Linked DNA regions of Homo sapiens: all the other regions are linked to region 4. The links are contacts of gene promoters, found by promoter capture Hi-C in blood cells and fetal thymus (Javierre and others, 2016). All regions are on one chromosome and are shown on one strand. Each heading gives the region's core, a stretch centred on a gene start or on the middle of the fragment in contact. The rest is flanking DNA. Distances are from core to core; before and after follow the strand shown.

The links. Contacts are between HindIII fragments. The CHiCAGO score rates a contact against its expected background, and 5 or more counts as called.
Region 1: the fragment with the promoter of OSBPL10 here is called in contact with the fragment with the promoter of CMTM7 in region 4 in 12 of 17 cell types (total B cells, activated CD4 T cells, fetal thymus and 9 more); the score reaches 17.7 in total B cells.
Region 2: a contact is called between the fragment with the promoter of TRIM71 here and the fragment with the promoter of CMTM7 in region 4, in 7 of 17 cell types (neutrophils, M2 macrophages, M0 macrophages and 4 more). The highest score is 8.3, in neutrophils.
Region 3: the fragment with the promoter of GPD1L here is called in contact with the fragment with the promoter of CMTM7 in region 4 in 17 of 17 cell types (activated CD4 T cells, fetal thymus, naive CD4 T cells and 14 more); the score reaches 33.7 in activated CD4 T cells.

The regions. Positions count from the first base shown.
Region 1 is chr3:31,979,414-31,984,913 of GRCh38, forward strand. It overlaps OSBPL10 (oxysterol binding protein like 10), which reads right to left and starts at 1,849. Exons shown (of 12, transcript NM_017784.5): 1 at 1,486-1,849. The coding sequence starts at 1,766. It overlaps ZNF860 (zinc finger protein 860), which reads left to right and starts at 2,337. Exons shown (of 2, transcript NM_001137674.3): 1 at 2,337-2,489. RefSeq lists a silencer at 1,539-1,608. The HindIII fragment of the contact is 3,310 bases long and covers 1-2,918 here.
Region 2 is chr3:32,813,834-32,819,821 of GRCh38, forward strand. It overlaps TRIM71 (tripartite motif containing 71), which reads left to right and starts at 4,164. Exons shown (of 4, transcript NM_001039111.3): 1 at 4,164-5,099. The coding sequence starts at 4,248. RefSeq lists an enhancer at 4,624-5,205. The HindIII fragment of the contact is 10,738 bases long and covers 1,245-5,988 here.
Region 3 is chr3:32,104,808-32,110,223 of GRCh38, forward strand. It overlaps GPD1L (glycerol-3-phosphate dehydrogenase 1 like), which reads left to right and starts at 1,813. Exons shown (of 8, transcript NM_015141.4): 1 at 1,813-1,951. The coding sequence starts at 1,905. RefSeq lists silencers at 1,546-1,955, 2,076-2,215. The HindIII fragment of the contact is 2,757 bases long and covers 1-2,566 here.
Region 4 is chr3:32,389,118-32,395,165 of GRCh38, forward strand. CMTM7 (CKLF like MARVEL transmembrane domain containing 7) reads left to right here and starts at 2,736. Exons shown (of 5, transcript NM_138410.4): 1 at 2,736-2,948. The coding sequence starts at 2,790. The HindIII fragment of the contact is 6,143 bases long and covers 1,994-6,048 here.

The DNA.
Region 1 (5,500 bases), core at 599-3,098, 410 kb before region 4:
AGTTGAGTTTCGTGCAGATAACTGGCTGATATGTTTCAGATGGAAGCAAATCTGAACATTTCCAAACAATCTACAGGAAGAGATAACCAAGTAATATAGTCCATGCAGCAGAGATAAGCAACTTTCCAGGGTATAATTCAAATCTCACAAACATCCTTAAGAGCCCCAAGTCTATTAAGATCTGGAGACTGTTAAATAGGCAGGACAAAATATCCCACCAACCACCTCTCCAAAAAGCATTGTTCTCCTCGCACTGACACTTGTATTTCCCTCTGGCTTGTTTTTGGAAAACAAATTGAAAAAAAAAACAAAAACAAAAAGTAAACAGTAGTGCCACATCTGTTCTTGTCTTCCTCACGATGGCAGATCACACACACTACCACCATTCCAAGTGCCTCCTGAGCCCCTTTCCTCGACAGCCCCATCCTTCCACGTGTCCATAACTAGGCTTCTCAACTGCAAGGGGGAAGTGAGCAGGAAACTTCAAATGGGACCTGAAGAGGAAATAATGATAATAATGTAAATTGCTACTAATATTAAAAGGGGGAGGGTATTTTTTCTTTCTTTTTATTATTTTATTTTATTTTATTTTATTTATTTATTTTTTTTGAGTCGGAGTCTCGCACTGTCGCCCCGGCTAGATTGCAATGGCGCGATCTCGGCTCACTGCAACCTCTGCCTCCGGGGTTCAAGCGATTCTCCTGCCTCAGCCTCCGGAGTAGCTGGAATTACAGGCGCGCCGCCACGCCCGGCTAATTTTTTTTGTTTTTAGTAGAGACGGGTTTTCACCATGTTGGCGAGGCTGGTCTCGAACTCCTGACTTCGTGATCTGCCCGCCTCGGCCTCCCAAAGTACTGGGATTACAGAGGTGAGCCACCGCGCCCGGCCTCTTTCTGTTTTTAAACAAAACTTCCATTACAAACATCGGAGGCTGCAAGGCACAAACTGGGGCAGGAGTATGCACAGTCGCCCAGGATGACAAGTGGCAGGTTTTTTGTTGATGGTGGTGGTGTTCTGAAACACCAAACTTTAAAATGAACTGTTACTTAGAGAATTACTGTAATCGGAGCGGACGTGCTAACGCTTTTTCACCCCGGCACAAAGCACGCCCCTTCTGCCTCCCTTTCCCAGTCATTCTTCAGGCGTGCGGGAAACCGCGGACAAGCAGAGCACGGGGACCAGCACGATCCTCCTGCCACCACTCCAGTCTCTGCAGGTGCCAGCATAGAAGAAAACCAGGGCTCTCGCCTCCCTCCCCGCCACTGCGGTGCGGTCCCGGGGTGGAGCCACGGCGCGCCCCATCCTGAGAACCCCACCTGGAGGGGAGCAGGGACGCAGGAAGGGCACCGTTGGGAGGCATCACTGGGTTCGCTGAAGGCACAATCGCGCGCGCACACACATACACAGACACACATACACACACGCACGCACACACACACACACACACACAGCGGCGCGCGGTGGCGCGGGCGGCTGGCGCGTTACCTGTTCTGCCAGCCCTGGAGGAGGTTGGTGTATTTGCTGAGCACGCCCTCGAGCGCCGGCTCCCTCCTGCGGCCGCCTCCCCCGGACGGGCTAGCGGCCACAGAGCCCGGGCTGCTGCGGCTTCCCCCGCCGCCGAGCCCGGCCGCCGCCGACCGGCTGGAGACCCCCCGGCCCGCCAGAGAGCAGGAGGGCGAGGAGCCCGCCGAGGTAGCACGGCTGCTGCTGCGGCTGCTGCTGTTGCTACCCCCGCCGCCGTCTGTGCCCTGGACTGCCCTCTCCATGGTCCGTGGGCGCCCGGGACGCGGGTGCCCGCCGCGGTGGCGGCCCCGGCACGGCGGCTGCTGCTGCTGCTACAGCTCCGGACGCCCGGGCCGCGCGTGCCTGCTCCAAATCCCCGGGAAATGCCTGACTCATACAGGAGGAAGAGGAGGAGGAGGCGAAGGAGAGCTGGGAAGGAAGCCAACGGGGCTGGATGCAGCTGCGGCCGCCCCTCCTCCCGCCGCGGCCAGGGCCCGGCCCCTCCCTCCGCACTAGTTTCCCGGGCAAGTTCGGAGCGGGTGGCCGGCTAGGCGAGCCCTCTTCGGGTTCCTCCTTCTCTTCCTTCGTGTCCCTGCGGCCTCTCAGGCCCTCGGGACACTCTAGGAGGCCGATCTGCAGGGTGGGCACGCCCTAAATCCACGCCAAGTCACCCACGCATTCCTTCTGCCACCCTCTCTTGGATCCGAAGGGGCGAAAGGGAATCTCTGCACGTCACTCCCCACCCCTTATCCACCTCGGGACCTGGAGGGAGGGGCAGCCCCACCCACCCGGTCCACCCGGATATGGACCCGCCCGGCCTGACAGGCTCACACGCACACTCCCTCTCTCGGTCTTCCGCACACGATGCTGCGCCAGACGCTCCTACACAGTAACCTGGAAATTATCACCGGCGGAGCAAAGTCACAGCTCAGGGAGGCCCTCCGCGTTGTCTGGCGGAGGAGGGGAGTGGCAGGTGATCCTCACAGGTAAGCTCGCCGGGCATTTTCATGCAGCAGGATTATGATAAATGCTTAACAGACACACGGCTGGGCTGGGGTGAGGCGCGCGAACTCTCAGGTTTGTGCGAGTGCTTCCTTAAATTGAGTGTCCTAGGTCACTCACTGGCCTAACCCTAATCCCCTGCCCTGAATGGCACGCATAAACCTGGCAAGTCAAAACCTATCCATTGCTACCACACTGCACGTGCACCTAGGAGCAGAGGCTCTGAAACCGGGAAAACTGCTCCAGAGGCAAGGGAAATTAACAGATATTTACAAACATTGAAGGATTCTCTGTGTTGGCTGTAACTTCTGCGCCCCTCTTCCTACCTAAAGATACTCTTTCTATCCCACTAATATTTTTTGTGAATATAGATATCCATTGTAATCTGAAGTATCAAAAATTACCTAGAAAAAAGCTTTGAGGAACTCAGACTCTCTCTCTCACACACACACAGACAAAACAAAAGGTGATAGATGATAGGTGATCTCCGTCCAAAGGATCTACAAACCCATCAAGCAGATAAATACTTCAAGAGTTAAAAAAAATTACTAAATGGAAAAGTCAGCTCTCAAAGGGACAGTTCCCCGAGCCCAACCCCTTTCTAGCTTCACATCCTTCCAGGAAGATTTCATGGGTGGTTTAGCTCTAGAGATGCACGGAGAAGCTTCTGGAGTTGAAGAGAAGTGGTTGTGCCCCTGAGTAAATTACAATTCCAGGTGCCTACATAGTGTTAAAAAAAAAAAAATCTGAAAAGAGCTTGCCTGGACCAAATTTGAAGCCATTCAGAGCTGAATTCTAACCTATGACCTTGATCAAATTACCTCTTTTAGCCTTAGTTTTCTCACTGCAAAATGGGACAAATGATACCGGCTGTAATAAACTATGCAAGAATGTTCATTTGTTCAAAATATTTACTGCCGCTTCCTATGGAAAGAGTATCCTTCCTCCACATGGACCTTAGGCTTGGCCATGGAATTGCTTTGAGCAATGGAATGTGAACAGAAGTAATGAATGCCCCTTCCAAACATAAGCTTTAAGAGCAGTCATATGGTTCCACCATCTTTCTCTTTTCCTTATCCCAGGAGAGCAGCATGTCCCGGATAAGGACTCTCCTTAAGCTTGTGTCCTGGAGTGAGAAGGTGTGGAATACAGCAGATCCTAAGCCAGTTAGTGTTGGCCATGTAACATGCACAAAATGTTTGTTTGAAGCCATTGAGATTTTAGCATTATTTTTTACCACAGCATAGCTTTGCCTAAGCTAACTTACTGATCATATATGAGTGTTCATTGAGTCCTGCATTGACATACAGACTGAAGGTGGGAAGGTAGGTGCATACTGGACTATAAATGTCAGCATTATGTACCAAAACAACATGCCTTTTATTGGAGACTGCCACCTTAAGCTCCTGCTAAAAGAGGAGAAGTGTCATTTTATTTCATATTACCTAACCTATGCCACCATTACTCCACCTTATGCAGCCAACCTAAGACTGAATGAGCTAGCACAACAAATTCTCACCTTGGACTAAAAAATTAGACCCTTGAGATAGACCAGTTCAAGTGGGGAAGGAACTAAGCTAAAAGGAATAGTCAAGGCCAGGATGGGGCAGGAGCAAGCCAGCCGTATGGGATCAAAAATGTCCAAGAGGTGAGTGGAGCAGATGTGCTGAAAGTAGAGGCTATATCATGAAAGAGTGATGAAGCACATGCTGTTCCTCCTGCTGGTGACACTGTTCCCTGCTCTCTTCACCCGGTTTGTGTTTCTCACCCATGGAGTTATGGATTACAAGTCACTTCTTCCAGAAAGCTTTCCTTGACCTACCGTAGTATAGCAAATAGGGAAAAGGTACCTGCAGAATTATGTTTGGAGAGGAAAAAGTCTTTATGTTTGAAAAACAATTTGGAAAATACATAATAAGTTGGCAAAAAGTATTTGAAATACATACTGTAATGCCCAACAGTTTCATCTTGCTTGTTACCCGGAAAAGCCAATGCAGGTTTTTGCAATAGAGGAAGAGTTTAACAATTGTAGGGCCAGCCAAGCTGGAGCACAGGAGTGTATTATTACTCAAATCAATCTCCCTGAAAATTCAGAGCCTAAGGGGTTTTTTTTGTTTTTGTTTTTGTTTTTGTTTTGAGACTGGAGTCTCGCTCTGTCACCCAGGCTGGAGTGTAGTGGCACGACCTCAGCTCACTGCAAGCCCTGCCTCCCGGGTTCACGTCATTCTCCTGCCTCACAGCTTCCCCAGTAGCTGGGACTACAGGCACCTGCCACCATGCCCAGCTAATTTTTTTGTATTTTTAGTAGAGATGGGATTTCACTGTGTTCACCAGGATGGTCTCGATCTCGTGACCTCGTGATCCGCCCACCTCGGCCTCCCAAAGTGCTGGGATTACAGGCGTGAGCCACCGTACCGGGCCCACCTAAGGTTTTTTTTTTTTTAAGGATAGTTTGGTGGGCAGAGGGCTAAGGATGGGGAAGCTGATAGATTGGGTGAGGGATGAAATTATAGAGAGTCGAAGTTTGTCTTCTTGCACTGAGTCAGTTCCTGAGTAAGGGCCACAGGACCTGATGAGCCAGTTTACCAGACTGGGTGGTGGCAACTGGTCCGTCAGAATGCAGGGTATGAAAAACACCTCAAACACAAATCTTAAGTTTTACAATAGTGGTGTTATCTATAGGAGTGATGGGGAGGTTAGAAATCTTGTGACCTCTGGAAAAATGGCAGATTATCATTTAACTATGCCTTTATCTTAGCAAAGTTCAGACCTCTCTTAAGCCTGTGGCCTTTCATTAGTTTTACAAAGGTAGTTTGGTGTTCAAACAAGGAGGGAATAGTTTTGGAAAGGGATATTACAATCCTTGCTTTAGGGTTAGACTATGAACTAAATTCCTCCCAAAGTTAGCTGTGGCCTGTGCCCGGGAATGAACAAGGACAGCTTACAGGTTAGAAGCAAGATGGAATCAGCTATGTCGAATTTTTTTTACTGTCAT
Region 2 (5,988 bases), core at 2,914-5,413, 430 kb after region 4:
GTGGCAGGATCTCAGCTCACTGCAACCTCCGGCTCCCGGGTTCAAGCAATTCTCTTGCCTCAGCCTCCCGAATAGCTGGGATTACAGGCGCCTGCCACCACACACGGCTAGTTTTTTGTACCTTTAGTTTCTTTTTAGTTAATTATTAAAATACAAGATGATTTATTTTCAGGATTCTTGAAGGCATATAGACTCCCTTTCAAATGTAAATGAGTGGAGGAAAAACTGGAAGCCTGCGTCCTCCTCCTTTGCTAACAAAGGGTGTTTATTAGCTAGGATGGCAATGAAAAATTTAATACAACGTAGTTTATAGCAGTGGACTGTGTCTTTGGCTCCTCATCTGGATGTGTAGCTCTGGCTCCTCATGGATAAGCTGTATAAAGCCTTATTAGATTCAAATACTAACCGTCGCTATGCCATATTAAAAAAAATCATTATAGCTATAAGCTGTATTTCTTATATAAGTGGGGTTAAATTGGTTGACTTAAAGATTTCCCCCTTTGCTACCAGTGCTAAAAAATTGTCTTAACCAAAATTAGGAATGTGCTAATTTAACAATTTACACTACAGGCCTGCTTCCTGGCAATGTGCTGTCAATTCAAGAAAAGAAAGAAGGAAAGCTACTTCACGATGAGAAATCAAACCTCACCCCCACTTCTCGCTCTCTCTTTTCTTCCTTTTTTTTTTTTTCCTCTGAGCAATGGTCCCCAGGAAACAAACCCACAAACCGCTGTCAAGTTTGATTCCTCTTTCTGGAGTTACAGCCTTCCTGCTCCTCCGTGATGGCTCAGCTGAAGTACCACCTCTGCTACTCGTTTTCAAAATACATGTTGAGTCTTAGGACCAGGAGGACGATTGAGGTTTTTTTTCCTTGTCATCTTTCTTTTCTTTTTCTTTCTTTCTTTTTTTGGTGGTGGGTGGGGCCAAACTAAGAGGGAGACAGCAGGTCTGGGCCATCCCTCTTCTGACCCTCTGGGGCCATCTTCCTTCTGGCAATTCTCTTCCCCCATCTGTTTTCCTCTTGTTTTTGTTTTTTAAAAAAGAAGGAAAAACAATCAAAGAAAGGAAAAGAAACGAAACAAAACAAAATTACATGAAACATCTCTATGGCAAGGCCAGTATGGTAGAAAATTATGGTAAAAAATTATAGGAGTGCATTGATTCATATGAGCATTTCATGTTTCTACACAGGTCTCAAATTATGGAAGAAATACATTGTTTAGGCAAGAGATGGTGGCATGAGAAGCTTCCTCTTTAATTTTTAAATTATACAAAGTTTGCTTCTTCGTTTGGCAAAGGAGGGGCTCTGTTTTGGTCTTATTTGATCAATAATTTTTCACTCCTCACACATTTCAGAAAATGTTCACTGATGTTCATTTTGCTCCAGGTGCTAAGGAGGGAGCTCTGGGGGCAGCTGAGGGCTTAGGCATTCCCGGTGGGGCTGCCAGGCTCTTCCTCAGCCTAGGAAACGCTCCCATCTCAGGACAGCACCCTGGCCCCCAAGACGGCTTCATCCTTTTGGAGAGGTACTTCTGCAGCTTCCTAGGGCCATCAGCACATGTGTCCAGCTGGGTTGATTTAAGGGCTTTTTCCAGGGTGATTTTCCCATGGATTCCAATGAGCAAAACCAGAGGAGCTGGGGAGGTCCATGTAGTGTATTTTTAAATTTCTCCATCTTTATGATCCAGGCATAGTTATGCAGGTTGGACACCGAGGTGTTTTTTTAAATTGCTTATCGAAGTATAATTTAAACAGTGAAATCGTGCATAGATCTTAAATGGCATTTATAAGTTTTGACAAATGTACATACACGGCAATCTATTTTTATTTCACCACCCCAGAAGGTTCCTTCATGCCCTTTCCCAGTCAATACCTCCTCATCCCCAAGGGTACTTTTCCTCTCCCCATAGCTTAGTTCTCTGTTCTAGAATTTCCTGGAAATGGAATCACACAGTATGAACTCTTTTGTGTTTGGCTTCTCTCTCCCAACACGATGTTTTTGAGTCATCAGGTTGTTGCCTGTACCAGGTTAAATAGGATATCACTAACAGCGAGATAGTGTTAAGAAGGGGACAATTTTTACCCCGTTGGCCTCCAGGCCAGATACTACCTATATCCTGGTAAGTGGCCCTCCTTGCCCTTCCAAGTGAGTCTCTCTCCAGGGCCATGCAAGTTCCTCTCCCAGAACCGCTCAGGCGGCCTCGGGCACCACCCAGATGGCTGCGGGGCCATCACCAGGTCGCCTCCCCAGAACAGCTGCCCCCTGCTTCCCCCCAGCCCCATTAAAACTCAAAAGGGAACTCTGGCCCCTCTGCCGATCAGAATTCAGACTCGCTTAATTCCATGCATCCAACTGCACACCACCGTGTGATGTTTTGGTGATCAGATATGCAGAGTTCTTTAAAAAACGTAAAAAGAAAAAAAGAAAAGGTGGGTAAAAACCGAGATCTCCCGGGCAGTGGATATGTCTCGGTTGAGCCAGGGATTCAGAATGAAATCTTTTCTTTTCTTTTTTAAATAAACGGAAGAGTCGTTCTCTGCTCCTCGCTCAGAAGGTTTCAAAGGTCGTCACACTGAAGCCCGGGGGCGTTCATCTCCCCAGCGGCCGGGAGAAGGGAGGAGGTTGGAGGGCGGAGGGAGGGAGCACACAAAAGCGGGCCGTGCTGAGAGGGCTAATGTTTCCTGTTTGCCTGGAGCCCCCTCCCCTGCCTCCCCTCCCCCAGCCCCCTCCCAGCACTCGGGCGGAAGTGAGTTTGCTCCTTTGGAGATTAAAAGGATTCCGAATTCCGATCAGTCCCAATAACCGGCGTACTGAAGAGAAGAGGAGGAGGAGGAGGAGGCAGAGGCGGCAAAGCAGAGAAAGAGGGGGCGCGCGCGCGCGCACGCAACCCGAACTGGGGGAGTTGTGCAAAGCCCCAGGAGGCCGGGGCACGGCGGGAGCAAAGCTCGGTAGGCGCAGCGCGGCCGAGGCCACCCGCGTCCGGATCGGCGACTCCTTTCAGAAAGAAGATGACGCGGGCGCGAGCCGGCGGCGTTGGCCACGCGGCTCCCGAGCTCGCCGCGCGGGGCTGTTGCCGGTTCCACTGATTCCAGCGCGCCCGAGAGGAGCCTCCATCCCCGAGGCTCGGGATCGGAGGGGGGACCAAGGCGAGGGCGAAATGGCCCGATGACAAAGGAAATGTGATCCCCCTTCTCTGCCAAGGTTTCAGAGAGGACGGACGTGAGGAGGAGGAGGGGCGCAGGGCGCGCGCGGAGCTCGGATAGCATTGCACGACGGCCCGCGCGGAGCGGGTACATCTAATATCTTCCTGCCGATGAATAATTCAGGGCGGCCCGCGGGGACCTGCGGCCCCGCGCGCTAAGCCGAAGGGGAAGGAGCGTGCGTGAGGCGCCCAGGCCAGGCGAGGCGGGGGCACGAGGGCTCCGGGCCGCGTGGGGCGCGCGTGCGTGTTAAGCGCGGGCAGCCGCGGCCCGGCTGGGCAGGCGCGCGGAAGACTCGAGGCGCGTGGGACGCGCGTGCGTACTGCACGCGTGCGGCCGCGGCTGGGCCACCACGAGCTGCAGCTGCTGCGGGGCCCACCGCCCTGCAGGGGAGGCCGTGCCTGGCTGTGCGCAAGCCCCAAGCGCAGCACGCCGGGCCACCCAGGAGCCCCTGGCCGCCGCGTCATGCGGCGGGGCAGCCGACGTCGCGCGGGGAGACACCGGCTTGGCGACGCACCGCTCCCGCCTTTACTAGTTTGGGGCTCCTTCCCCTCCCAAGAACAGACTAAATCCGTTTAAAGAAAAGCAACGCACCAAATACTCGTGGAACCAAATTCTGCTCTCGCCGGGACTGGGACTGCACAGCGAACTCTCCTTTTGGGAACTCCTTTCGTCTATCGCGAAGGGAAGCCTCAGCTGCTCCAGGGAGTCTTCCGACCTCCCTGCCCCCGCTCGCCCCTCGCCTGTCGGGGCTTGTTCCGGCGTTCCCTCTTCGGAAGGCACGCGGCCCCCAAGTTATCCGGAGGAATCTGTGTCGCCGCTGGATAGTGGCATTTAATGCCTGCAGTGTCGGGGGTGGCAGCGCTCGGGCCGGACGTGGCGAGGCCAAGCGGGCAGCGCTGCTCTGGTGCCGGCTCCCGGATTGCAGGCCTAATCGATGCATTTTTCTGAGTGAGTCGGTGACTCCCCCACCCACCTCGTCCGCTCTCTCCTCCTCCTCCTCCTCTTCCTCTCTGGTCTCCTCCCTCCTCCGGGCTGGGTTGCAAATGGCTTCGTTCCCCGAGACCGATTTCCAGATCTGCTTGCTGTGCAAGGAGATGTGCGGCTCGCCGGCGCCGCTCTCCTCCAACTCGTCCGCGTCGTCGTCCTCCTCGCAGACGTCCACGTCGTCGGGGGGCGGCGGCGGGGGCCCTGGGGCGGCGGCGCGCCGCCTACACGTCCTGCCCTGCCTGCACGCCTTCTGCCGCCCCTGCCTCGAGGCGCACCGGCTGCCGGCGGCGGGCGGCGGCGCGGCGGGAGAGCCGCTCAAGCTGCGCTGCCCCGTGTGCGACCAGAAAGTAGTGCTAGCCGAGGCGGCGGGTATGGACGCGCTGCCTTCGTCCGCCTTCCTGCTTAGCAACCTGCTCGACGCGGTGGTGGCCACTGCCGACGAGCCGCCGCCCAAGAACGGGCGCGCCGGCGCTCCGGCGGGAGCGGGCGGCCACAGCAACCACCGGCACCACGCTCACCACGCGCACCCGCGCGCGTCCGCCTCCGCGCCGCCACTCCCGCAGGCGCCGCAGCCGCCCGCGCCTTCCCGCTCGGCACCCGGCGGCCCTGCCGCTTCCCCGTCGGCGCTGCTGCTCCGCCGTCCTCACGGCTGCAGCTCGTGCGATGAGGGCAACGCAGCTTCTTCGCGCTGCCTCGACTGCCAGGAGCACCTGTGCGACAACTGCGTCCGAGCGCACCAGCGCGTGCGCCTCACCAAGGACCACTACATCGAGCGCGGCCCGCCGGGTCCCGGTGCCGCAGCAGCGGCGCAGCAGCTCGGGCTCGGGCCGCCCTTTCCCGGCCCGCCCTTCTCCATCCTCTCAGTGTTTCCCGAGCGCCTCGGCTTCTGCCAGCACCACGACGACGAGGTGAGTGCGTGGGGGCGTGTGTTTGTGTCCATCGGATAACTGCGTGTGTGCTCAACAGCGTTTCCCGGCCGGTCCCACAGCGAGGGGAGGAGGCCCTCTCCGGATTTGGTTTGTATTTCCTTTGGCTACGTGGCAGTCCTTGCTACCAAAGTAGATCATGACCTGGGAAGTATGTGGAAGTGGATTCTGTGTACGTGTCGCGAGGGGCTCCGAAAAATCCCATAGCGTGGGGTCCTCCCTTTTCTGATTTTAATTTCTGTGTGGCAAAACGCGGCAATCGTCTTGAGTTAGGCGTGAGTTGGGAGGAGATAGGTGTGTGTGTTTGTGTAGACGTGGCCTGCTCCTGCTCTTGTGGGCACACCAGAGGCCTCCCAACGTGCTGAGAAGGCGCTCCTTTATTTTCAGATTTTTGTTTGGAAAACTCATAGATTGTTGCCTTTAAAATGGGGCGTGAGCCCGGAAGAGATGGTTGTGTGGGTGAGTGCGTGGAGTTTGTGTGCCTCCGTAGACCTGGTTTCCACGTGCGCACTTGTGAGGGGAAGACTGGTTTTTTTGTTGTTGGGACAGCATGGCAGTCCTTGCCTCCTTATGTTGGGTAAGAGTGGGAGCGTCTGTGGATCTTTGAGGGCCAAGGGCCCCCAGTCTTAAGCCCTTCTCTCTCTGCGGCTGCTTCCTATATTGTTTAAAATGCGTGTTCTGGCCCCTGAATTCTCCTAGCGTGAAATCGCCGTTCGTGGGCCCACGGCTGCACCCCGAGATAGAAGCGGAATAAAGGGACGACGTTACCTTCACCAGCCTGAGTCTCTTGGGCCGCGCCCGCCTGCCCCGACTCCAAGCCCTACAGGAACCGGTTTCCCTGGTTAGGAGGTATCCACCCGGCTCAACCAGG
Region 3 (5,416 bases), core at 563-3,062, 290 kb before region 4:
ATAACAGTTCTCTGAGCATCAAACTAATAGGCTTAGTATTACTATCATTTTTTTGAAACGGAGTGTCGCTCTTGTCGCCCAGGCAAGATCTCGGCTCACTGCAACCTCCGCCTCCCAGGTTCAAGAGATTCTCCTGTCTCAGCCTCCTGAGTAGCTGGGATTACAGGCATCTGCCACCATGCCTGGCTAATTTTTTGTATTTTCAGTAGAGACGGGGTTTTGCCAAGTTGGGCAGACTAGTCTCCATCTCCTGACCTCAGGTGAACTGCCTGCCTCGACCTCCTGAAGTGCTGGGGTTATAGGCGTGAGCCACGGCACCCGGCCTAGGCTTAGTTTTTTGTAGGTACTAGAGTATTTGTTTCTTTAGCCAGAATCCACTGATATTTTAGTCTTCTGGTTCTCAATCTTGGCTTGCTTTTGCAACTACCTCTTGAACTTTAAAAAATTCTGCTCCAGCCTGGGCAACAGAAGGAGACTGTCTCAAAAAATATATGTCAATAAGTAAATATCCTGATGCCTGGATCCCACCATGGGACATTCTGATGTAACTGGCCTGCAATGGTGTCTGGGCATGGGGATTTTTAAAAGCCCCAGTGACTAATATGCAGCAGAGTTTGAGAACCACTGGTTTAAAGGACTTTGTCCTACTCTGACAGCGTCTAGCACAGTGCCTGGCAGAGACTGATGCTCAGAATGAACAAACTAAGATTCTATTTGTCAAGGAGGAGAGCATTGTGTTACTCACAAATGCAAACAAACCACAAGCAAGGGATAAGTCAGGCCCTGGGCAAAGACAATGGTAAAGCAATTCCTGCCAAGTAAGCGTGTGAGGGTGACACCCACTGAATGCAAGCTGTTGTTACCTTTTTCCCTTTATTTTTATGTATTTATTTTTTGTTGAGACAGGGTCTCACTGTCCTTCAGTCTGGAGTGCAGTGGCCCTATCCTGGCTCACTGAAGCCTCGACCTCCTGGGCACATGCAATTCTCCCGCCTCAGCCTCCTGAGTAGCTAGGACTATAGGTGCGTGCCACCATGCTTGGCTAATTTTTTAAATTTTTGTACAGAGGGGTGGGGGGTCCTAATTATGTTGCTCAGGCTGGTCTCGAACTCCTGGGCTCAAGTGATCTTCCTGACTCGGCCTCCAAAAGTGCTGGGATTACAGGTGTGAGCCACTGCACCAGGTCAAGTTTCTATCTTGACTCTAACTAGAAAAGGTGTCATCCTTGAAATGCAGGTACTGTTCAGCCAAATTCCAAAGTCCTCTGAAGATCCAAGTTCTCTAAGAAGTTCAGAGGTGCCAGGCTGTGTCTTGTTTGTGCAAATGAAACAGAGGATGACAAGGTCGGGTGGGCATTTCGAGCTCTGCCCCAAGTCTGGTCGGCTTGAGAGTCAACCTAGGAGCCTCTCTCGGCTCCAAATGGCAATGTGGCAGCCCTTCCCGAGTAGGGAAAAAGGAGCGTGTAGGGGGCACCACGGCAAGCTGGTTGGGTCTGCTCCACCCATGAGGATGGAGTGCAGCCTCCACCGGGAACCAGGGGCGCGAGTCGCTGCTCAGTGGCCTGGGCCTGCATGTGGCGCGGCGGGAGCTGCTGCCTAGGGCCGCGCAGCGACGGGGGGTGAGGACTACATGTCCCGACGTGCCTCGGGCAGGGCGGGGCGGTGCCGGAGCCGGGCCTGGAGGCCGGCCGGGGCCAGGCGTGCGCAGTGGTTCTTGGGAGTGGCGAAGCGGGTCCTGCCCCGCTGTCAGCTGCGGCCCCCGGCGCCGGGCGGGGGTGGCCGCGACCATTGGCGGAGAGGCGAAAGGGGCGGGGCCGCCGCCAGCCGCTGCGGGCAAGGCTGAACAGGCGGAGGTGGGCAGCCGGCCAGGGAAGCACGGTCCAGGCGGCTACATTCGGCCCGGCCATGGCAGCGGCGCCCCTGAAAGTGTGCATCGTGGGCTCGGGGAACTGGTGAGCGGCGGCGGGCTGGAGGCCGGGGCTCCGCTTCCAGGAAGCGCCTCTCCCGGGCGGTGAGGGCTGCGCGCCCCATGCTGCGGCGTGGGCACCGGGCACTGCGCGCAGGGAGGCGGGGTGGGCGACCTCGTTGCTGGGCTGGGCACCGTGCGCCCGAGGAGGCCGCACCGGGGCACTCGCTCGGGAGGCGCTGGGCTCGCGTGCGTGCGGGGGACAGCGCGGAGAGAGGGCACCCCGAGCACGCGGGCACCTGTCTGCGCCCCCGTTACTGAGCGCACAGAAGCCACCTGCTTGCCACGCCTGGGTGTTTTGCACAATATCCTAAGGGCGTATTCCGTTCTCCACGGCGGATCTCCTGGGTCAAGGACTTGGTGGAGGCTCGAGCATTCTTACTGCAGTTTCGGTGTTGAGGAAACCGAGGCGGAGAGGGCTAAAGGGCTCTTGCTGCCCAGGTCACGGGCGGGGCATGCTCTGCCCTTCAAGGTGCCCGTCTCGCCCCCGCTTCTGATAGGTCCACTATCTTAGGCGCGTCGTATCAGGAAGAAAATCCAAGTTTCAACAGGCCGCTCTCCCTGAGGCGTTGAGAATTCTCCCTTGCCGAGATGTTTGCGAAGCTTTGCGTCTCTTTGGGGCCTTATTTGACTTTAACATTTTATAGAGCACATTAGAAATGTCAGTTCTTCTAGTACCCTTAATCAAACGTACACTGTGGGATTCTCTGGTGTGTTTGGGTGAATGTAGAGGTGGGGGTGTGAAGGGGGAAGGAAGCAAAGTGTAGCATCTGGTGTTTCCAAGCCTTTTTTCATTGCTGTACACTCTGCCACATTGGAGGGACTGGTGTACAATAGTTAAGAGTGATGATGTCCTTTCAGTGCTTCTGTTTACCGGTTTTTCTGTGGCGTGACAGGCATCAGAAGTGCTGCAGCAGCTGGTCCTAGGTAGTTGGTCTTAGTTTTACTCTTTCAAGACTTGGCCCAGAAAGTACTTATTGAAGGAAACCTTACCTGGTTCTTCACTTTTCCATCCCAGCAAGGCCAGTGGCCTCTCTCTGTGTCCCTATTGCTGGCCTGCATCACTGCATTATAAGGAGTTATTTGATTATCTGTCTCCCAACTTTTGAGAATGGCATCTACCCTAGTGCCTGGCATATGCTAAGTCAATACTAAGACTCTGTTGCAGTGGTGCGATCTTGGCTCACTGCAACCTCCACCTCCTGGATTCAAGCGATTCTTGTGCCTCATCCACTTGAGTAGCTGGGATTACAGGTGTGAGCCACCGCTCCCTGCCTAAAAACTAATTTTTAAAACCATAATGATATTTGATTGAATAATACATTCACATTGTTTAACAACCAGGGCTGGGCGCAGTAGCTTATGCCTGTAATCCCAGCACTTTGGGAGGCTGAGGTGGGCCCAGGAGTTTGAGACTAGCCTGGGCAACACGGCAAAACCCCGCCTCTACAAAAAATAAAATATTAGTCGGGCATGGTGGCTCACGCTTGTAATCCCAGCACTTTGGGAGGCTGAGGCAGGGGGATCACGAGGTCAGGAGATTGAGACCACGGTGAAACCCCGTCTCTACTGAAAATACAAAAAATTAGCCAGGTGTGGTGGCAGGCGCCTGTAGTCCCGGCTACTTGGGATGCTAAGGCAGCAGAATCGCCTGAGCCTGGGAGGCAGAGGTTGCAGTGAGCCAAAATCAGATTGCACCATCGTACTCTAGTCTGTGTGAAGGGAGTGAAACCCTGTCTCAAAAGAACAAAACAAAACAAAAAATAAAAAACAAAAACCAAAGAGTACCAAAAACAGTGAAACATCACCCATCCACATTTATCCCCCCTGAGTACCTCCTGGAGGAAAACCAGTGTTATGAATTACTTCTGTCCTTTCTGGAGGAATTCCATGCAAGTGAATGCTTACATATAGTCCTTTCGCCCTCCACGCTGCAAATACTAGGGTATTGCATACTTTTCTGTGAGCTGCATTTTTCAACCAACAACAGAATGTTCTACACAATATTTAATAGAGTTGGTAGCTTGCTGCTGCAAAGCTTAATTTGGACTTTCAGCTTGGCTTTGCCAGTTGTTTTTTTTTATTACTATTTTTTTAGACGGAGTCTCCCTCTGTCGCCCAGGCTGGAGTGCAGTGGCGCGATCTCTGCTCACTGCAAGCTCCGCTTCCTGGGTTCATGCCATTCTCCTGCCTCAGCCTCCTGAGTAGCTGGGACTACAGGCATCCGCCACCATGCCTGGCTAATTTTTTGTATTCTTAGTAGAGACGGGGTTTCACCATGTTAGCCAGGATGGTCTCAATCTCCTGACCTCATGATCCGCCTGCCTCTTCCTCCCAAAGTGCTGGGATTACAGGCATGAACCACCGTACCCGGCCGGCTTTGCCAGTTTTAATGTCAAGCTCACTTGAGTGCAGTGTCAGCTCCCCTGTTGGCCATGCCACTTGAAAGGCACCCATTTAGCACATGTTTTTTTAACATTAGTTTTTTAGTCTGTACAATTCCACAGATGACAGCCCCTTTTCCTAATTTGCAAGATGCAGGACAAGTAGCACAGCTCTGCCATGCTGGAACTGGGCCTGGAGCAAGAGTAGTGAAGTGAGCCTCCTGCCCCCTCTGCTGGGATTTGGCTGCCTGCCCGTGGCTTCTTCATTCTGGTGTACTTGACTGTTTCCTTGGCCCACTCCAGCCCAGGGAAATGGAGTAGAACTTGGCCAGTGATACTGAAGCAGAGCAATTGAGAAATGTGCTGATGGTTTGGGCTGGCTGCCTGGCTTCATTAATTATGGGATTAGACGGGAACAATTCTTGGCTTCTGTGCCACTGCCTTGGGTACAGAGTTACTCCAGTCCTAGAGAGAGGATCACAACCTCCCCAGAGGGATTCAGGAACTCAGAAACTGAAAACAACATGGAGAAGCCCCAGAGGAGTGTTCAGCTCTAGTCAGTAGACATTTGAGTGTTGCCCGGTGAAGAGACTGTGGTCTGACCAGGGATGCAGACACAGCTGGACACAGTCCCGGTCCTTAAACAACTTACCTTCAGGTCTGAGATCAGTGAGGACATGGAAGATAAGACCGAAGGAATTGCCAAGTGGAATGGAGTAACTGCTCTGTTACACTTTAAATCGTGTTTCTTTTTTTGTTTGTTTGTTTTTGTTTTTCTTGAGACGGAGTCTCGCTCTGTCGCCCAGGCTAGAGTGCAGTGGCGCAATCTCAGCTCACCGCAAGCTTCGCCTCGCGGGTTCACGCCATTCTCCTGCCTCAGCCTCCCAGGTAGCTGGGACTACAGGCACCCGCCACCACGCCCAGCTAATTTTTTGTGTTTTTTAGTAGAGACGAGGTTTCACTGTGTTAGCTAGGATGGTCTCAATCTCCTGACGTCGTGATCTGCCTGCCTCGGCCTCCCAAAGTGCTGGGATTACAGGCGTAAGCCACTGCGCCCGGCCTAAATC
Region 4 (6,048 bases), core at 1,486-3,985:
AAGGAGAAATGATCCAGCACTTGGTTTTTCTGCTTCCCTGAAACCCTCATCTCAACAAAGATGCCCTGTTATCTCCACTGTGGGTCCTGAAGCCTTAGACAAGTACAGAAGTGAAATGTACATCTACATAAAAAAATGATACACAGTACTAACTTCATGCCTGTGGGTATAGAGCCAGAAATGTCACAGCACACCTGCATATCTATCACATTGTCACAGCAGCCCCTAGATGCAATTATTCCTGAATTACAGAGAAACAAATGGAGGTACCAGGCAGCTGTGACTGTTGTCTACAGAGAAGACACACGTGGAAGGCAATTTTTCTTGGTCATGAAAATTGTCAAATGTACATAAAGGTGAAATAAATAGTGTAATAAATCCCCAAATGTTTCAACTGCAGTGGACTCTGGCAATGACAGTGGTTCTCAAATTTGAGTGTGCATCAGAATCACCTAAGAGACTTGCCAAAACAGATATTGCATGGGTATCATCCACCAACAAGAATTATTAGGACTTTGCCACATCGAAAACTCTTCTGATGACAAGACAGCACTGGCAGGGAATAAACTCACAAAGATAGTTTTATGTTTCACTTTGCTTTGTTTTGTTCTTGAGGCAGGGTCTTGCTCTGTCACCCAGCCTGGAGTACAGTGTTGTAATCATGACTCACTGCAGCTTCAACCTCCCGGGCTCAAGCAATCCTCCCACCTCAGCCTCCTGAGTAGCTGGGACTACAGGCATGTGCCACCATGCCCAGTTAATTTTTGTATTTTTTTGTAGAGATGGGGTTTCTCCATGTTGCCCTTGCTGGTGTCAAACTTGGGCTTGTGAGCTTGATTTTGGGATTACAGACATGAGCCACCGTGCCCAGCCAGATTTTTTGATGTTATCTCCAAATGAATAAATGTAAGTATGGCCACAGGGACACTGCTCAAAAGGAACATGATAACATACCTCGTTTTGGTAGTCCCGTTTGGGCCTGTCTTCATTTTTATGTTTTTTTCCTTTTCTTTTTCTTTTTCTTTTTTTAAGAGACAGTGTCTCACTCTGTCACCCAGACAAGAGTGCGGTGGCAAGATCATAGCTCACTGCAATCTCGGACTCCTGGCCTCCAGGGATCTTCATGCCTTGACTTCCCAAAGTGCTGGGATTATAGGTGTGAGCCACCACGCCTGGCCTCTTCATTTTTAAAACAACCCAAAAGGGATACAGAATAGAATGTCACTTGGATAGCTGTTTGACAGCTTTTTCTTTTTCTTGTCTTTTTTTTTTTTTTTAATTGAGACAAGGTCTTGCTCTGTGGCCCAGGCTGGAGTGCAATGCCACTGTCATGGCTCACTGCAGCCTCAACCTCCTGGGCTCCAAGGCTCCTCCAGACTCAGCCTCCTGAACAGGCATGTGCCACTGCACCCAGCTAATTTATTTATTTATTTATTTTTATTTTTATTTTTATTTTGAGACAGAGTCTCGCTCTGTCGCCCAGGCTCGAATGCAGTGGCGCAAGCTCTGCTCACTGCAAGCTCCGCCTCCCGGGTTCACGCCATTCTCAGCATCCCGAGTAGCTGTGACTGCAGGCGCCCGCCACCACGCCCAGCTAATTTTTTGTATTTTTAGTAGAGACGGGGTTTCACCGTGTTAGCCAGAATGGTCTCGATCTCCTGACCTCGTGATCCGCCCGCCTCGGCCTCCCAAAGTGCTGGAATTACAGGCGTGAGCCACCGCGCCCGGCCCAGCTAATTTATTTTTATTTTTTGTTTTTTGTAGAAATGAGGTCTGGCCATGTTCCCCAGGCTGACAGCTTCTAACAGAAGCAAACATATGCTCCCCTTGTAACCAGTGCGTTCACTTGCAGATATTTGTCCCAGAGAAATGAGAGTTTGTATCCACCAAAAAAACGTGTACCATAATAGTGACTATAGCCAGAAAAGAGATGAGGGAGGGGGGAAAGGCCGGAAGGAGGGAAGGAGGCAGGCAAGCAGGTAGGAAGGAAGCAAGCTTGGTGTCCATCAACTGGGTAAACGTTTAAAAAATACGGTATCTTTGCACAGTGGAGTACTACTCAGCAATAAAAAGGAAGGAACTGATATGAACTACTTATATTCCCAACAGGATGGATCTTCTAATTTGTTATGTTGAAGGAGAATATTCTGTATTACTTCAAGTTTATGAAGTCCAAGAACAGGCAAAATGAACCTACAGTGACAGAAAGCAGAATACACTGTAGTGGTTGCCTGAGGCTGGATAAGGATGGGGCCAGGGAAGGAAGGTAGGTCAGGAAGGCCCACCACGGAACTTTCTGGGGTGATGGGCACGTTCTATTTGTTGATCTGGGCGACGGTTACACAGGTGTACACATATATAAAAATTAGTGGAGCTGAACACGTAAGGTCTGGGCATCACACTTTATGTAAGTTAAACTTCAGTAAAGTGCTCTCAGCACACATCCGCAGCCGCACCCACACAAAATCCCAGGAGGCTCAGTACCAGCTGTGGTCCGGGCCTTGCCCACCTCGGAGAGGCCACGACCCAAGGCATCCGGTTTCCTCTCGCTCCAGTCTAACTTCCGCGCATCTACGAGGGCCGGGACTGCCGCTACCTTTCTGGAAGGCGCCGGCCGGCCAGTCACCGGAGGGATCCCGCCAGAGGCGGCTCCGCGTCTCCAGCAGCGGGGCAGGGACCCGGGCGCCCCGCCCTCGCCAGCGCCCGCCCCCGCCCGCCCCCGGCCCGCCCTCTGTATCTGGCCCCTGGGCAGCTGCCCGGGGAGGCGGCCAGCGAGCTGGGGCCGCGCAATGTCGCACGGAGCCGGGCTCGTCCGCACCACGTGCAGCAGCGGCAGCGCGCTCGGACCCGGGGCCGGCGCGGCCCAGCCCAGCGCGAGCCCCTTGGAGGGGCTGCTGGACCTCAGCTACCCCCGCACCCACGCGGCCCTGCTGAAAGTGGCGCAAATGGTAAGTGAGCGCGGGGCGCGAGGCCGAGGTTCTACAGGGCGTCCCGGGAAAGCAGGGGTCCGGGAGCGGACGCGCCGGGCGTCTGGACCCGGCCGGAGCCCAGGGAGCATCGCGCAGCGGGCGGGGCACCGCGTCGCTAAAGTTCGCGGCAGGCTTCCTCCGGGAAAGTTGCTGCCGCAGCCCCCGCGCTGGAGCTCAGTCCCCAGAGCCGCCCCGGCCCTTGCTCCCGCGGACCCAGGTCGCCAGGGTCGCAAGTTTCTCCGGCCACCCCCCTGCGAAGCCTGACCCGCCTACTGACTGAAACCACGGGCAAAGTTCCTTTTCGTCTTTCTTCCTCTTCTCTGGGCCGCGCCGCTTCGAACCCGAGCCGGGGGTGGAAGAGTCGCCCAGGCGGCGGCGCTGAGGGAGCGAAACCCGACCTCTTCCCCGTCCACGGCCTCCTCTTTCCTCCGAACCCAGCGCGGCAGGGCTTCCCTGCTCTGTGTGCAGTTTCGCTCGAAGGAGGAGGTCAGAGGGTCTTGTGTTCCATAGTGGGGAAAAAGAACTGGGACCGTTGAGACGGCCGTCCTGGTCCCCTGCGCCCTCAAGTTCCGAGGGAGGGCCCGGGTCTCAGGGGGCTCTGGAGGGCAGGGGGTCAGTTGGGAAAGGCCTGTTGTCAGGGGCTGGTACTCATGTAGGGGAGCCAGACTGTTGAATGGGAGTCACCCGTGGAGCCAGGCAGGATGAGTGTCTGGGCTTGGATTGTGACCAACTCAGCACAAGGGCCTCCTACCAGGGCAGACGTTGCCTGGCCGATTCTCTTGTTCCCCACTCTTTTCTTTTCTCCCCTCCCGTTTTTTTCTTCTTTAAAAGTTTGTAATCTGAAACAACTTTTCCGTTTGTATGATGTGTTTTGAAACTGGGTTGGGCTGTTTGTGAGTCTCCACCATTGTAATGTTTGCACCAAGAACGGTGGGGAGGGGAGCGGTAAGTTTCAAAAAGAGGTGTGGGGAAAGGAGTGTGGGGCTGGACAAGGTCACACACCCAGAAGCTGGGGCCTGCTAAGGTGGCCTGGCCCCAGGGGGTTGGGCACAGGACGTCTGTGCATCTATAGCACTGCCATTCCAGACACTGAGTGTGCATGAGGTGGCCCTCATGTCTTGCTTGGGCCAGACCTAAAGAGAAGGGGCGCTGAGTTCCTGCCTCCCTAAGAACGGTGTCTAGATAGACCAAAAACTAGGAAGAGCCATTTCAGCAACGTACAAAAAAATCTGGTGCTGAGCATTGTTGGGTTTGAGCAGGGCATTTTTTGGCCCAGGCTAAGAGATTTGATCAGCCAAATAGAAGAGACCAGCCCATCTCACCATCCTTAAAAGATGGGCTGGGGTGAGACATATCCTACCTGAGCATTGGAAGGGATGAGTTTGGTAGACAGAGAATGGGATCAGAAGCCTCCATCTTGGCCCCTGAGTTTGCTGGACAAAGATATTGTGGGATGAAAAGTCTTCTTGTTGGTCTATGAGTTTGGTACACAAACATAATGGAGATGAAACCTCGGCAACATAGCGAGACCCCATCTCTACAAAAAAAATTTTAAAACCTTGTGTGGTTGGCATGGGCCTCTAGTCCCAGTTACTTGGGAGGCTGAGGTGAGAGGATTGATTGAACTGAGAAGGTCAGTGAACTGTGCCACTGCACTAGTCTGCGTGACGGAGGGAGGCCTGTCTCAAAAAAAAAAAAAAAAAAAGGTACAAAGAAAAGGTAATGGAGATGAGAAGCCTTCATGTGGTCCATGATTTTGATGAATAAAGATACTGGGAGATGAGAAATCTCCATCTCATCTTAAGCTCCTCAGCTAGCCTCTGGCCTGTGGTCCTTGGGCCAATTTGCAAGTGGCAAGAGTGGGGCCTGTTGTTCCAAAAAAGAGAACAAAGACTTGAATAATTTCTTTATCTGGTTGCTTATTCTCTATGTGCTCCTCTTAAAACCATGCTGAGGAGTCTTACACCTGCCCTGGAGGATTCCCCATCACTGCTGCAGGCTTGTTTGATCAGACCCTCTGGGAGCAAAGTTGCCCTTGCAGGATGGCTGTATTAGTCCTAGTTAGGGCTATCTACTTGGGCCTCTTATCTAACTCCTCCCTATTTTCCCACTTCTCCTCTTTTCTAAGACTCTGCTTGGGCATTTGAGGTTCATTTGTCTTCTTTGCTGGAAAATGCTTGTTTAGCCAAGTTTTAACATTGGGGAAGGGCAGAAGCAGCTAAATTAATGCCACCCATTGGGGCTTTCTTTCTATGGGTCTCTCATTTTGACCATCAGTTTCTCAGTTTCATACTGAACAGGTTGACCCTTTTGTCCTCAGCTTCTCATGAAATGTTTTCATCATGATCTGATCAATAGATCTGCCAACACGTTGTCTTAAGAAATCATTGCAAAGGCTGTTCCACTGGAGAATGACTTCCCTTGTCTTGGCCTCTTCTGGGTCCACCATTACTAGAAAATGAGTTTCTGAGTGAATGTGTGTACTTGACATGTCATTTATACATGTGTAATTTTTATAATCCTCTGGCCATGATAATTCAGTTTCTTTGGTCTTCCTTTTTGGAGTAGAGACACAGTCACAGGTTTTGACTTTTGACTTTAAAGCACTCTTTTTTTTCTTTCTTTCTTGAGAGGGAGTCTTGCTCTGTCACCAGGCTGGAGTGCAGTGGAACGATCTCAGCTCACTGCAACCTCTGCCTCCCGAGTTCAATCAAATCTCCTGTCTCAGCCTCACGAGTAGCTGGGACTACAGGCACGTGCCACCACACCCAGCTAATTTTTGTATTTTTAGTAGAGATGGGGTTTCACCATGTTGGCCAGGATGGTCTTGATCTCTTGACCTCATGATCCGCCCCCGCCTCTGCCTCCCAAAGCGCTGGTATTACAGGTGTGAGCTGCCGCGCTCGGCTAAATGACTTTTTTTTTTTTGAGCGAGACAGAGAGGGTCTTGCTCTGTCACCCAGGCTGGAGGACAGTGGTGTTATCATGGCTTACTGCAGCCTTAACCTCCTGGGCTCGGCGATTGTCCCACCTCAGCCTCCCGAGTAGCTGGGACTATAGGCACCCACCACGATGCCCA